Regions from separate parts of the Homo sapiens genome. Here regions 1 and 3 are each linked to region 2. Evidence: promoter capture Hi-C in 16 types of primary human blood cells and fetal thymus (Javierre and others, 2016). All regions are on one chromosome and are shown on one strand. The core of a region is centred on a gene start or on the middle of the fragment in contact, and the rest is flanking DNA. Distances in the headings are between cores, read along the strand shown. Region 1 holds the start of TAL1 (TAL bHLH transcription factor 1, erythroid differentiation factor). Region 2 has its middle 29 kb from the start of LINC01738. Region 3 holds the start of CMPK1 (cytidine/uridine monophosphate kinase 1).

Region 1 (4,227 bases), core at 1,143-3,642, 480 kb after region 2:
AAACCCAGTTTTATACCCCAAATACATGTCATCTTCACTTGCCTCTTGTCATCTCTTCTGCCAGCACAGTGGTCCAAGCTCTAATCCGCTTCCCCTAACCACTGCATTGGCTCCACAACTGGCCTCCCAGAGTCCTTCCCCCTCCACACTTCATCCAAAGAACTTTCTAGAAATGCAAATCTTATTCTATACAAGGTACCACCCCCACCTTCAAACCAAACAAACAAAAAAATGTCAAAAAATCTTTTAACTTGTCCACAAGCATGCTCCAGCCATACTGGACACTTTTCTATTCTTTTCACGAACCTACCACCCTTCTGTTCTAGCCCTTGGTCCAGCTGTTTCCTCAGCCCACCTGGAAGGTTCTGGATACTGATGCTTCTCCCCACCCCCCTTCTTCGCACCCCCAAATTTCACTCTTAGATCTCAGTCCAGGCCTCATTTTCTCAGAGAAGCAGTCCCCACCTGGGCTCTCCCATATGGGAATGGCTAGCCTGTTTTTACAGTGGCTCAGAGACATGAAATCACTTCTCTAAGGGTCCCACAGCCCAGGAATGGCAGAGTTGTGTTTCAGACTCAGAATTATATGACTCTCATTTTCTAATAAGTGATGGAGCCAAGCAAAGGCCTTATGGTAGGGGGGAACTAGACTTTTTCTTAGGATGTGGGATTCTGTGAGAGTTATCTGTATCCCCATGACAGCCTGACTTCCTTCAGAGAGCACAGGAGGAACAGAGGGGACAGGCGGCACTGAATTAACTGTATCTTCTCAGAGGGTCAACCTGATGACCAAGGAGAAGCCAGATCCCAGACTGGGGCCATGCTCTCTGCTCAGTCTTTGACTGGGACTCAGTTTGTTACCAGAGTAGGGGTTTTCCCCCAGTTCTCAGGCTCCAAAAAAAGCTCAAAAGCAGAGACACTAGAAGGACAAATCAGCCTGGCATGGAAAGTAGAGTTGTGGACTGGGAATTGGACACCAAAGTTTGGGTCCTGGCTTTTCCTTTGGGTTACTGTAAGTTTTGGCTAAGTCACATCTCTCTGTGTCTTAATTTCTTTCTCTATGATGATAACCAGAACTCCCATGCAAGTGCATATGATGTTTTCCTGGGCTGTGGACTGAGTGACGTTCCATACATTATTATCCTCACCACCACCTTTTAAAGGTCATATAAGTTAGTTCTCATAACTTTGTGACGTCGACATTATCTCCCCATTTTACAAATGAGAAAACTGAGGTTCAGAGATCAGTGACTAAAATTCGAACATGTGTTCTTTCCACTCCACCATGAAAGAATGAACCCAGAGACCCTCCGTGGGCTGAGCGCATCATCCAGCTGGCACTGAACTCAGATTTCTACCCCACAGTAAAGACCCTGGTCTCTGCAATGAGTTGAGCCCAGGTCCCTTTCCCTGGCTAGGTTTTGGCTGCCCCTCTTCATCAGCTGAGCCGCAGAGAAGACTCCGTGTCAAATTTCCTTCCAAGGCAGACTCCACCAAGCACTAGCTATGTATCATTCGAAAAGTTACTTTGACTTTCTGTGCCTCAGTTTTCTCTTCTGTAAATTAAGGATCCAGCTTCTCAGGACTGTTTGTGAAGAGTAGATTAGTATTTGCAGAATGCCTAGAATAGTGTTACAGTCGCTAGATTAAACTTTTTTTTTTTTTTTAAATACCATGTGGGGAGCAGTGTTCCTGGGCTCTGGGCTCAGCCTGAAACCTAGCAGAATAGGCATTTTATGTCCCTATTGACAGGGGTTCTGCCAGGCCGCCGTAGAGCCCATGGATTTGAGTTACCGGCTCTATTTTAGAAGGGGGTGAAGAGGTAGGGAAGGGCTGGGGAGCTTTCTGGGATAGGGAGACTGCCCATTGAAATCTGGGTGTCTGGGACACTGGAGGAAGAATAAGAAAGAAGCCCTGGGAGGTGACGATTTTGGTATCATGGTGGTCTTCAGAGGTAGGGACAGAGTGCTGGGGTGAGAGTCGCTGAAGAAAGGTGTCTGAAAGGTTAAGGGACTGAGGTTGTGGGAAGCTGGGGTTCCTGAGAGGCCTTGGGATTAGAGATGGGGGCTGGATCTGCTGGGTCCTAGACAGCGCGTCCAACGCTCCCCGCAGCGCGTTCCGGAGCCGGTCCTAGCGCCGCTCAACCAGTCCCCACTCCCTCCGGTGAAATTGCCAAATTAAAATGAATCATTTGGCCCATAATGGCCGAGGCGCTTATCGGGGGCGGGCGGACCCGCGGCAGTGCCTTATCTCTGCGGCGCACACGGCCCCGGCGCGCCTCGGCCCATGCTAACGAGGCCTGGAACGTGAGTGGGATTACAGCGCGTCGGTGGAGGGGCCGGGCGGGCGCGGGGCGGGCGGGGGAGCGGGGGCCGCGGGAGGGGCCGGGCCGCCGCCGCTCAGGACCGGGCCTCAAAATGGCCACACGCGTACCCCCGTAGCGGAAAAACGTGAGCATTCTGGCCTTTTTCTAGGGGAAAAGCAACCCGCGGCCTCCCACCGAATTCTTCATCAATTTCCTCCTCTTTTTCCCCACGTCCGCAAAAGAGGTCTTCGCTCCCTTTCCCTCGGTTCCTTTCGATGGCCGGGGGGGGCGGTGGGGGGGCATTTTCCACGGACGCCCCCGCCCCGGCTGCCGCCGCCCCTCCCGCCTCGGAGACTCTCTTCCTTCCTTCCCCCTTTTCCTTACGCAATATACAGAAATGCGCGAGGCTGTGGTTGGTTTTCATTTCTTCTTCGTGGTTGTGTGCATGCGGTGGGATTGTGAGAGTGCGTTCATGAGAACTGTGGGCGGCGTTGGCTGCTTCTAAGTGTGGTCTTCTTGGCGACAGGCTCTGTGTCCGAGTGTGGTGTGCCTGCGCGGTTGGGGTGTGTAGATGTGGACCCTTCGAGGCCCTTCTGCGTTTTCTTCGTTGCGTACGATTGTGCTCCGTTGGTGTTCTCAGCAGGGATCTGATTCTGTGTGTGGGGGTGTGTGGCCCCTGCGACTGTGTTTGGGTGGTGTCGTCGTTATGTCGGGCGTGTGTGATCCCGACTGTGCTGGATTGTGTGTCCGTGAGCCGCTGCGTTTGACTGATTTCGTTGTGTCCTGTTGGGCAGTGTGCGGGGCTGACCAAGTCGGCTTCTGGGGCAGTGCTAGGTGGTGTTTGTTTGCTGCCCTTCTGTGGGGCTGGACCCTGTGTGGTCCTGTCCGCACTGAGTTGTATGCCTGTGTGCCTGTGTCCTTTAGAGGTGCGTTTGCAAATCGCTGGGGGCGGGAGTGGGGGGAGGGCGAGCGAGAGATCGAGGCGCTGGTGGGGGCGGCGGCATGGGGGCGGGGAGCGGGATTTCACATTTTATTCCAAATTATGATGTATTCGGGAGCCAGTTGTTGGCTTGGGTGGGCGGACAGCGCCCGGTCGGCGGCTGCTCTGCCCGGAGGCCCGCCTGTGCCTAGGTGTTTGAGGGGTTCGTTGGTGAGTGGGAGGCTCCTCCAGGCTTGAAGCTGAGCAGCGCTCGCCGAGGCCGGCGCCTTCGAGCCGGTAGCTGCGGGCTTCGGTTCCCGCTGCACTCCGGCTTCATCCATTTCTGGTCAGTTTCGTGGGTGCGGCCGCCGGGCTCCAAGGGAGAGGCCCCGAAAGGACAATGGGCACATTCACCAGGCCTCGAGCCTCGGGTGGGGACATTCGGGATCACCTCCTGGGAAGATTTTCCCGCCCCCTCTTCGGGTGAGCGACGTTGCCGCTTGGGTCTGATACCCGTCGCATCCGAGACCGAGGCCGAATCCGGGCTCTGGGAGGGACCGGGTTAGTGGGGCCCTAGCTCGGGTTGAAAGAATTTTGTTTTGTCAATTATTGTAATTGCTAATGCCATCACCATCACAATCGTCATCATTAACATCTATTTTAATTAAAATAATCATCCCAGAGCGCAGCAGTTTGTCCCTTTTGGCTCCTTTGGCGGGAGAACAAAGCAGCGGGTTTTTTTCCGCTACAGCCGTTTTCTAAGTTGCTGGGTTTGAGGTAGGAAGAGAAAATGGAGAGAGGCACGGACACAGAGACTTGGTCATAAGGCAAACATTAACCCCCAGCGAACACGCAACATTAACCCCCCGCGAACACGCCGGGAATGGATGGATTCCCCTCTTCTTTCCTCCCCTCCCCTCTTTTGGATTAGAAGAGGAGAAAGAAAATCTTCCGCATTGTATTGCAATCCAGGGAAGAATTATTCCTATATGTCCACCAAAGC
Region 2 (4,745 bases), core at 2,033-4,532:
GAGGGCTCTCTGCATGTCCATGGGCCAGGCTTGTACACCCCTCACCCTCCCCTGTGGCCCGCCTGGGCCTGCTATAGCCCAAGGTCCCCAGTGCCTTTCCTCCCACATGGGCAGGGGACTCATGCAGTGGCAAAGCTCAGGCTGCAGAGGTGGGTGGGAATCCTGCTCCCCACCACATGCACAAGGTTCGGGGAGCTTAAGAAAGTTTCTTCACCTCCCTGGGCCTCTGTTTCCCTGAAAAATGGGGGCCTACCTCCGACTGTGGCCCAGAGGAAGGGGCAAGCATGTACTTATTGTGTTTTTCCGTGCCAGATGCCAGCATCTGCTCTACCCCTCAAACACAGGTTTGAACCTTGAAGTAGGGTGGATGTTTTTATCCATTTGACTTAAGAGGAAAGAGGGATTTAGAAAAAAGAGGGGACCACCTGTCCAAGAACAAGAGACATCACTTGTAAATAGCAGAGCCAAGGTTCAAATGTAGGATCATCTAACCCAGGGATCAGAGTGGCAGGTGGCAGTGGAACATAGCACATCACCCCTTGTACCTGCAAGCACAAAGCTTGTGGCCCCTCAGAGCCTGTCTGCCCAACAGAAGACCAAGGACTCCACGATTCTAACGCCAGCTAAACCCAGAGCTCATTCCCAATGGTAGCCTCAGCATCTAGCCAGGACCTGGCACCAGAGGGGCTCAATTAATATTTGTTGAGTGACTACGTAAATGAATTTCCAACTCTTTGTAGAACATCTATGAGGGCGGTCATGAGATAAGTTGGTGAAAGTAAATGGGAAAGACCGAGGTGAGTAAACATGAAAGATTCATTTAGTTATTAATACAAATATTTCTCTCTGTCATTTTTGTCTATTGGCCTCCCTTCTTTTCCAATACAAACATTTATTAGGCATCTACCATGGAACAGGCCTGTGTGGGCTCCACAGATGCAGGGATAGACAATGTTAAGACATTTCTCAACATTCCTTTAGCCCTTACTGTGTGACTGACACTAATCCAAGCATTTTACATGGGTTTTCTCACTTAATACTCATAACAACCTGAAGAAGTAGAAACTTTTATTATTGTTCCATTTTACATGTTAGGAAACAAGAGACAAAGAAATTAAATAACTTAGTCAAACTAACTGAGAAAGTGGTGGAGCCCAGAATCATATGCAGACACTCAAATTTCAGAGCCAAGTGGGGAAAAATCTTCAGCCCTGCGTACCTCACTAGCTGATTGAATCAGGTGTGAGGGGGGGTTAAGTAAGGCAAGGGAGGGCCTTAGATGACATACATAGCATGGTATTTAGCAAAGAGAGAGCTCTTTCTAAATGTGACTATTGTGAACCCTATTTTTATTGTGAAAGTATTACCATGAAAGCAATAATTTTGTTATCCACACTTTCTCTCTTTTCTTTGGTATCTAATGAGCTTTTTTTAAAGGCCCTTAGAGGGTAGCTAAGGCACTGACTAAAGAGGGAACTGAGGCCCAGAAAAGGGCAGGAATCTGCCTCTTCCCAGGCCGCCAAGGCTAGAAGCATCAGTCTACTGGTAAATTTAACACCAGCTCTCTAGAGAAGAGAAAGCCTGATTTGCAGTCTTTGCCAGTTTCTATGGTGTGTTCTCACCATGGCAGATTTCAAACTGAAGTGAGATCACTTGATAGTGCAGTTGAATAGAGGCACTTACGGTCAGCTCTGGCCAGTGGGTGCAAACAAGCTCTGCACACCACGGACCAGAACCTAGGCTTTCTGACAAGCCTGGAGACCTTTACAGGATACCACCAAATCCAACGGCCCCAAGGGTCCATGTAGATGAGGAGTGGGGCTATGAGGATAGGAGGAAAAGGAGAGGGACAAAATGCTGAACCCCGAAGAGCTCTGAAAAGTTCAATAGGTCTTCCTTCTCCACACACTCAAGATTGCTTGTTCTATGCTCTCTCTGATAACTTGTAAAGTTTAGACTTGGGGAGAAGAAAGGGAAATGGCTTGGTTCCTGATACCCTCCTAGATTGAGCAGGATGTGGCAGTATGAGCTCAGTCCTGCCTGCTTTGCAGTTCCTGAAAGAAGAAGCCGTGGCTGGGGTCACCTGCTCCCTGGGTCCAGAAAGGGAGATCAGGTGATTTCATTTCCAGAGTACAGCATGTATTTCTCAATTTAACTTTGGGTCATTTTCACCGCTTATTTCCTTCCTCCTGGTCTCATAGTGTGTCCAGTGACTAATCCAAGACCCAGACTCTGACATAGGCTTAGAGATCTGTGATGTTGGGCACTCTACCAAGTACCCCTCTTCATCAGCATGGCCTCAATTCCACTAGTAGCTCTCCCTCTAGGTCAAGTCAGTGATGTGCTATTAAAATTGTCCGACTATTAATGATGGTAGTGAAAAAAATAACTGCACTTACTCTAACATCTTTAAACTGACTACTTAATATTAGCTTATTGCTATCCCAAACAAGTAAAAGAAACATTTAAGCCCCTACTATGTGTCAGACATGCAATGTGCATTATATTTAATTTTCCAAGCAAACTGACCAGGAAAGTTATCATCCTCATATTTTATTGATGAATAAAGCTCTTCCTAGAAGGGTTATGTAACTTGGCTGAAGTCACATGGCTAGTAGGTGACTGAGCCAGGATTGGAACCCAGGTGTATTTGTGTTCAATACTGTATTCTTTCCCTATTCTGTGATGATTCATCTCTTAGGTTGATTAGGAAAAAAAAAAAATCAAGATAATTCTGAGAGAGTGAACACAGGCTAGGCATATTAGTTTTCTATTGCTATGAAACAAATTACCATAAATTTAGCAACTTATAGCAGTACCTATTTACTATGGTATAATTGTGTAGCCCAGAAATCCGGGTGGGCTTATGTGAGTCTTCTGCCCTGGGTCTCACAGGCTAAAATCAAGGTGTTAGCCATCTGGGGTCTTATGGGAAGGCTCTGGGAAAAATGCCCTTCCAAGCTCAATCAGGATGTTGGCAAAATCCAGTTCTTTGCAGTTGTAGACTGAAGTCCCTGGTTCCTTGCTAGCCATCAGCTCCTTAAGGCCATTCATTTTCCTTCTCACATGGTCCTCTCCATTTTCAAAGCCAGCAATGATGCAGCAAGTTATTCTCATACTTCAAATATCTCCAAGATCTCCTTCTTCTGACTTCCTTTTCTGCTGTTGGCTAAAGAAAGCTTGCTGCTTTTAAGGGCTCATCTGATTCCACTGGGACCACCAGATACTTCAGGATAACTTCCCTATCTTAAGGCCAACTATACCATATAACATAACATCATCACAGGAGCGATGTCTAATCATATTCACAAGTTTCAGGAATCAGGGAAGGGCATCTTTGGGAGCCCATTTTAGAAATTCTGACTACTACAATAGATAAGCTTTGCAGGAGTGGAGGTTCTAGGGGTACTCTCCAGGCAGGTAGGACCGGGAAGGAGAGGGGCTTCCCACTGGAGGTCTTGAACACCTGGAAAGCACTGTGGGGACACTGGGTAGCCAAGGTGAAAGGACGTAAACAAGGAGGCAGGGTCTATAGTGGGGGGGATATCGGAAAGAAGGAGGCAAAAAAGAACAAAGGAAATGCATAAAAAAAAAGAATGCAGCCTTACATCTGTAAAGAAGTTCAAGTTCCCTTTGTTCTCTCACAGGGGCCCCAAAAGATACTCAGTAAATACGTGTGAAATTAAATGGGCTGTGTCACTCAACTCCCATGGAATGGGTTGGGTTGAGATTCATTGGGTAGGTTGGGATTAGGGCTGGGAGAGACTGAGTTGAGATGAGTTGGATGGGTCATATAAGCTGAGGTGCAGATTAAATGGCTTGTTTAAATTAAGGTAATTGACCTAGGCTGAGATGTGATGGATTGCATTGAGTTTAGATGGGCTGAGGTAGAAAGAGGTGAGTCAGGCATAGCTTGGTTGGGGCTGGGTTTGGCTGAGCTAGGCTAATTTGAATCAGGCTGGATTTAACATGCTTGGGTGGGTTGGAATGATTTTAGGATGGGTTGGTTTTTAGCAGGGTTAGACTGAGCTGAGGATATATTTGGTTGGGGATGTATTAGCTTTTAGTTTCAGAGACAGAATCTACTCTGAATAGTTTAAGCAAAAATAAATGTATTAACAGTATTTCATGGCTCACAGAAATATTTGGAGAGCTGAAAACAGATTCTAGGCTTCATCTTCAGGACCAACTCCCAAAGTTAGGCTGCAGAATGGACCACCAAGGCAGCTGCTCCTTTTGCAACCATTAGGAAACCATCTGCCAAGTCAGGAAGCCACCAATTTGGCTTCTGACTCAAGAAACATGCTCACCTGCATGTCCACACTAGCTAAATGCACACTTCAGTGAAAGCATTGACAGGGTTTCTCTCCAGATAAAAAAAAGTACGGTGAGGAAATTATTTGGGCAGGTAACACAAAATTGGAAAAATGTTCCTAATTGTTGAATCTGGGTCATACAGATAGAGGTACATCACACTCTTCTCTCTTCTTTTGCATGAGTTTTTTCTATGGTTATTGTTTTGAAAGGACGGCTCATTCCTTGCCTTTCTGCCCATTCAATACACTTCTGACTTCAAGCCTTGCATGAATGTATGGCATGCGGTAAAACCTACATAACATCTGCATTCTAACTCTAGGGCAGTCTGGGAAATACAGTTTTTAGCTTTTCAGCCCCTATGAGATAAAAAGGCACACTAGAAGGAGAGAGGGAAAGGGGCTGAATGAATCAGTCTACAGTTTCTACCA
Region 3 (4,421 bases), core at 1,781-4,280, 380 kb after region 2:
GCATGGCGGCTCATGCCTGTAATGCCAACACTTTGAGAAGCCAAGGCAGTAAGATCCCTTGAGTCTGGGAGTTCGAGACCAGCCTGGGCAATATAGTGAGCCCTGGTTTCTACAAAAACCTGAAAAAAAGTTAGCAGAGAGTGGCAGTGCACACCTGTCATCCCAGCTACTTGGGAGACTGAGGTGAGAGGATGGCTTGAGCCCAGGAGGCAGAGGTTGGAGTGGGCCAAGATGGTACCACAGCACTCCAGCCTGGGTGACACAGAGAGACTCGATCTCAAAACAAACAACAACAACAAAACCCACCAATAAAAATAACCAATATAATAAGATCAGGAAGTTTAAAGTAGAGGTAATAAGATCAGAAGTTTAAAGTGGAGAAAAAAACTATCTGCATCTGTCTCTGTGTGCCAGATATTTTACCTCATTTAATATTCACAAATACCATACAAAACAGCCATTTCTATGTTTTCCCTTTTCACAGGGAACTAAAGGCAACAACATCTCTGGGCCTAGAGAAACAGTAAATGGCAGAGTCAGGGTTTGAACCTATATCTCTTTGACTCTAAAGTCTTTGCCCCTTCCCCCATCATGCTATTTAAGAAAGATCACATATACTAAACAAAAATTTGAAATCACTCCCACTTTTCACTTGCCATTTATTTATTTATTTATTTATTTCTGAGACGGAGTCTCGCTCTGTCGCCCAGGCTGGAGTGCAGCAGCCAGTCTCTTTACTTTTTAAAAGACAAGTGACAAGGCCAGGCACGGTGGCTCATGCCTATAATCCCAGCACTTTGGGAGGCTGAGGCGGGCAGATCACGAGGTCAAGAGTTCGAGATCAGCCTGGCCAACATGGTGAAACCCTGTCTCTACCAAAAATACAAAAATTAGCCAGGCGTGGTGGCGCACGCCTGTAATCCCAGCTATGCAGAGGCTGAGGCAGGAAAATCGCTTGAACCTGGGAGGCGGAGGTTGCAGTGTGCTGAGATCGCACCACCGCACTCCAGCCTGGTGACGGAGTGAGACTGTCACAAAAACAAAAACAAAAACAAAAAAACAACAAAAGAAAGAGAACCAACAAAAAAAAATTTTTTTAAGAGGATGTAAATGTTATGTATTTTTTTAGTTGGACTAGTTCCACTTTGACACCTAAAATGATTTTTTTTTTTTTTTTTTTTTTGAGACGGAGTTTCACTCTTTCGCCCAGGCTAGTGTGCAGTGGCGCGATATGGGCTCACCGCAACCTCCGCCTTCCGGTTTCAAGCGATTCTCCTGCCTCAGCCTTCGGAGTAGCTGGGATTACAGGCGCCCGCCACCACGCCAGGCTAATTTTTGTATTTTTAGTAAAGACAACGTTTCGCCATGTTAGCCAGGCTGGTCTCGAACTCCTGACCTCGTGATCCGCCAGCCTCGGCCTCCCAAAGTGCTGGGATTACAGGAGTGAGCCACAGCGCCTGGCAAAATGATCAATATTTATAAATACATCTGTCCAACACATAATGACTTGTTGAACTCATCTAACTTTCTCTGGATGCTATTTAGGGAATAAAATACAGGACAGGAGTTGATTGTTATGAACATATAAGGAGAGAAGCAAAAGCCCCATGCTAATATTGGCCATATCCTAGAAGAGGAGGAAATTATAAGTTCTAGGTCAAAAAAACTTTTGTTGGTTACAGGGTTTCAGAGTGATTTCACTAGAGGCCACCAATGGTCGCCTCTTCTGTTTCTAGATATCCTGTTTTCCTTCTTTCCCAAGCATTCCCCAGATTGTCCATGAAGCCTTTTTTTCCCACAGTGTCAATGCAGCTAACCAACCATACATCTAGCTCAAAAATTGTTAAAAGAATTGAACTGGTAACCTGTCTCAAAGCAAAAGAAAAAAAAGTAACAGCATTTTACATTTGGGAGGTGTTTTATATCCTGAGAAAATCTGGGTTCAGAGACTCTTTTTACTGTATTACAAGGGCTAACTGAGGCTGGGAGACAGGAAGTGACCGAGGGCCGAGCGTGAGTTGGCAGCAGGGCCAAAGGTTGAAGCTTGATCTCAGAACAGCACTCCCGGCTTTCCCCATCCCCGACCCGGGCCGAGCCTCAGGGCTGGCTCCGCCCTAAAGCTTGCGGGGACGGGGCTCGAGAGTGCCAGCGGCAGCCCACAGCACGCCTAAAATAACACCCCGCCCCACGGGCCTCCTTTCTAGAGTAAAGACACGTTCGGTGACAGTGCGGAGTTTAGGGAACCAGAGGGAAGGCGCGGAGAAGAAAAATAGGTCTCTCCTTCAGACAACTGTGGGCGCACACGGCCTCTAACCCAAATCCGCGCTCCTGCTGCCTTCACCTGCCACACGATCAGCGACACGCTAACCTCTGCGCGCTGGGGGACCCCCAAAGGTTGGCCTCCGGGATCCCTCTCCCAGCCCACTCTAGAGACGAATCTGGTCCCCAAAATGTAAGAAAAGAAGGGGCGCAGGAACAAAGCGACCTCAAGCGGTGGCCCCCAAGGCGGGCGGGCGCGGACTACAAGTCCCGGCACGCCGCGCGCCGGCGGCCCTCGGCCACTGCCACGCGGGCGGCGCGGTGGCCGCCGGGACTCGTAGTCTGCGGCTCGGCGACTCCGCGGGGCGCGGACTAGGGGCGGCGGGACAGGCCGGCCCGCATCCCGTCAAGCCCCAAGGAGCCCGCCTGCTGCCCGGGCCTCACCTCGACGATGCGGGCGCACTGGGTCCCCTTGCCGGCGCCGGGGCCGCCGAGGACGAACACGACCAGCGGCTTCATGAGACGTGGAGAGCAGAGGAGAATCGGCCGGCGGGTCTGCAGCAGGAAGCTAAGGCCCAGGACGTGGAGCAGCCCGCTGCGGCAGCGGCTCAGCATACACCGCGCCTCGGCCGGACGCTGAGGGAGCTGACAGCGGCCGGCGCGGCGCGGGGCGGGGCGGGGAGGCGGCGGGAGAAAGGGGCGGGCTGAGCCGGCGCCCGCCGCGGCCCCGCCGCCGTGGCTGCCCGGGCGTCCGCGGCCCTGTCGGAAGGGGAGGAGCTTCGCACGGCGGCGGCGTCTCGGCGACACTCGTGCGGTCCGCGCCAGCTTTCCTCCAACCCTTGGGTGGTTATTAGTGCTTTCTGACTGCAGATATTTTATCCTGCGCCCTCAAGTGTCTGGTGCTGAGCTGGAGGCTGGGACGTGATCCGCGGGAGAGCAAAACCTATTGTCTCTGCTCGCAATGAGTTTCCATTCCAGCCAGTGAGGTATGGGGAGGTAGCCAGTGTGAATGAGTAAACACCAGTACATACAAAAGGCAGTACGATTTTGAAGAAATAACAAGTAGGACATAAGATGGCCAGGGTCGCCAGAGAAGGCTTCAGAAGAGGTGACATTCAAGCCAAGACAAAAGGATAGAAAAGAGCGAAACCAGGCAAACACCAGGATAGAGTGTCCCACAGAGAAAAGCATGTGCAAAAAATCTAAGTTGGTTTGGCATGTTAAAGCAATTGAAGGAAGGCCTGGCTGGGCGCGGTGGCTCACGCCTGTAATCCCAGCATTTTGGGAGGCTGAGGCAGGAGGATGGCTTGAGCCCAGGAGTTCGAGACCAGCCTGGACAACATGACGAGACCCCGTCTCGACCAAAAATTTAAAAGCCGGGCACCGTGACCCGTGCCTGTGATCCCAGCTACTGGGATGTTCACTTGAGCCTAGGAGCCGTAATAGCACCACTGCACTCCTGCCTAGGTGACAATGAGACTGCTTCAAAAAAAAAAAAGGAAAAAAGGCCAGTGACAGTGAGACCAGGGCTGAGTCAAATGAGGGGAGAATGGAAGGTGAAAAGTTGAGAAAGTGAGGTCGGTGGCAGATCAGGACTTTTGATTATGGAAAGGAATTTGGGCTGTATTCTAACAGCAATGGAAGCCCTTTAACTCCGTTCGCCTGCCCCCTTCATTAGGGAAGAATCTTAAGGGAGAAGAAAAGGAGACGTTCAAGAACTGAGCCTTGGTGCATACAGGCCTTTAAAAGGCCTTCTGGCCAACGTTAAGAGCTCATTTGATATTTGAGGTAACGGATTCAAAATAATTGAAGATGTTTGGCCATTCAGGCACAGGCAGAGAAGGCAGCTTGTTGCATTTACTGAGGGTTGGGATTTTGCCTGGCAAGTACAACAGAGAGAGGGGGCCAAGTGATGAGAGTGTTTGGAAGAGAATGTTCATGATGCTGTGTGTAGAATCAAAACCATACAGGAAAGCAAATAATGGCACATGAAGCCTGGTAGTGGAGGGGTTGGAGGGTGGTGGGGAAAGGGACCAATGTCTTAGAGCATTGGCCCAAGAAAGATTGCAGTGGGGTATATGAGCAAGTGCTCTGGCAGTATGGATGCTGCTGGTCTGAGTGGGATATTTGGAATTGAAATGTCCCAGCTTCTGAGTTTCTGA

Evidence for each region. The method cuts DNA at HindIII sites, captures the fragments that hold promoters and counts their contacts. A CHiCAGO score of 5 or more calls a contact.
Region 1: a contact is called between the fragment with the promoter of TAL1 here and a fragment that was not itself captured in region 2, in 2 of 17 cell types (total CD4 T cells and naive CD8 T cells). The highest score is 6.1, in total CD4 T cells.
Region 3: the fragment with the promoter of CMPK1 here is called in contact with a fragment that was not itself captured in region 2 in 6 of 17 cell types (M0 macrophages, M2 macrophages, total CD4 T cells and 3 more); the score reaches 8.4 in M0 macrophages.

What each region holds. Positions count from the first base shown.
Region 1 is chr1:47,230,390-47,234,616 of GRCh38, reverse strand. It overlaps TAL1 (TAL bHLH transcription factor 1, erythroid differentiation factor), which reads left to right and starts at 2,392. Exons shown (of 5, transcript NM_001290403.2): 1 at 2,392-2,450. RefSeq lists enhancers at 2,223-3,196, 3,197-4,170. The HindIII fragment of the contact is 19,807 bases long and covers 1-4,227 here.
Region 2 is chr1:47,715,427-47,720,171 of GRCh38, reverse strand. No RefSeq gene overlaps it. Among named protein-coding and RNA genes, the nearest start is that of LINC01738, 29 kb to the right of the region's middle. The HindIII fragment of the contact is 201 bases long and covers 3,182-3,382 here.
Region 3 is chr1:47,332,399-47,336,819 of GRCh38, reverse strand. It overlaps CMPK1 (cytidine/uridine monophosphate kinase 1), which reads right to left and starts at 3,030. Exons shown (of 6, transcript NM_016308.3): 1 at 2,704-3,030. The coding sequence starts at 2,874. RefSeq lists enhancers at 1,908-1,967, 1,484-2,287, 2,288-3,091 and a silencer at 2,478-3,117. The HindIII fragment of the contact is 8,075 bases long and covers 2,123-4,421 here.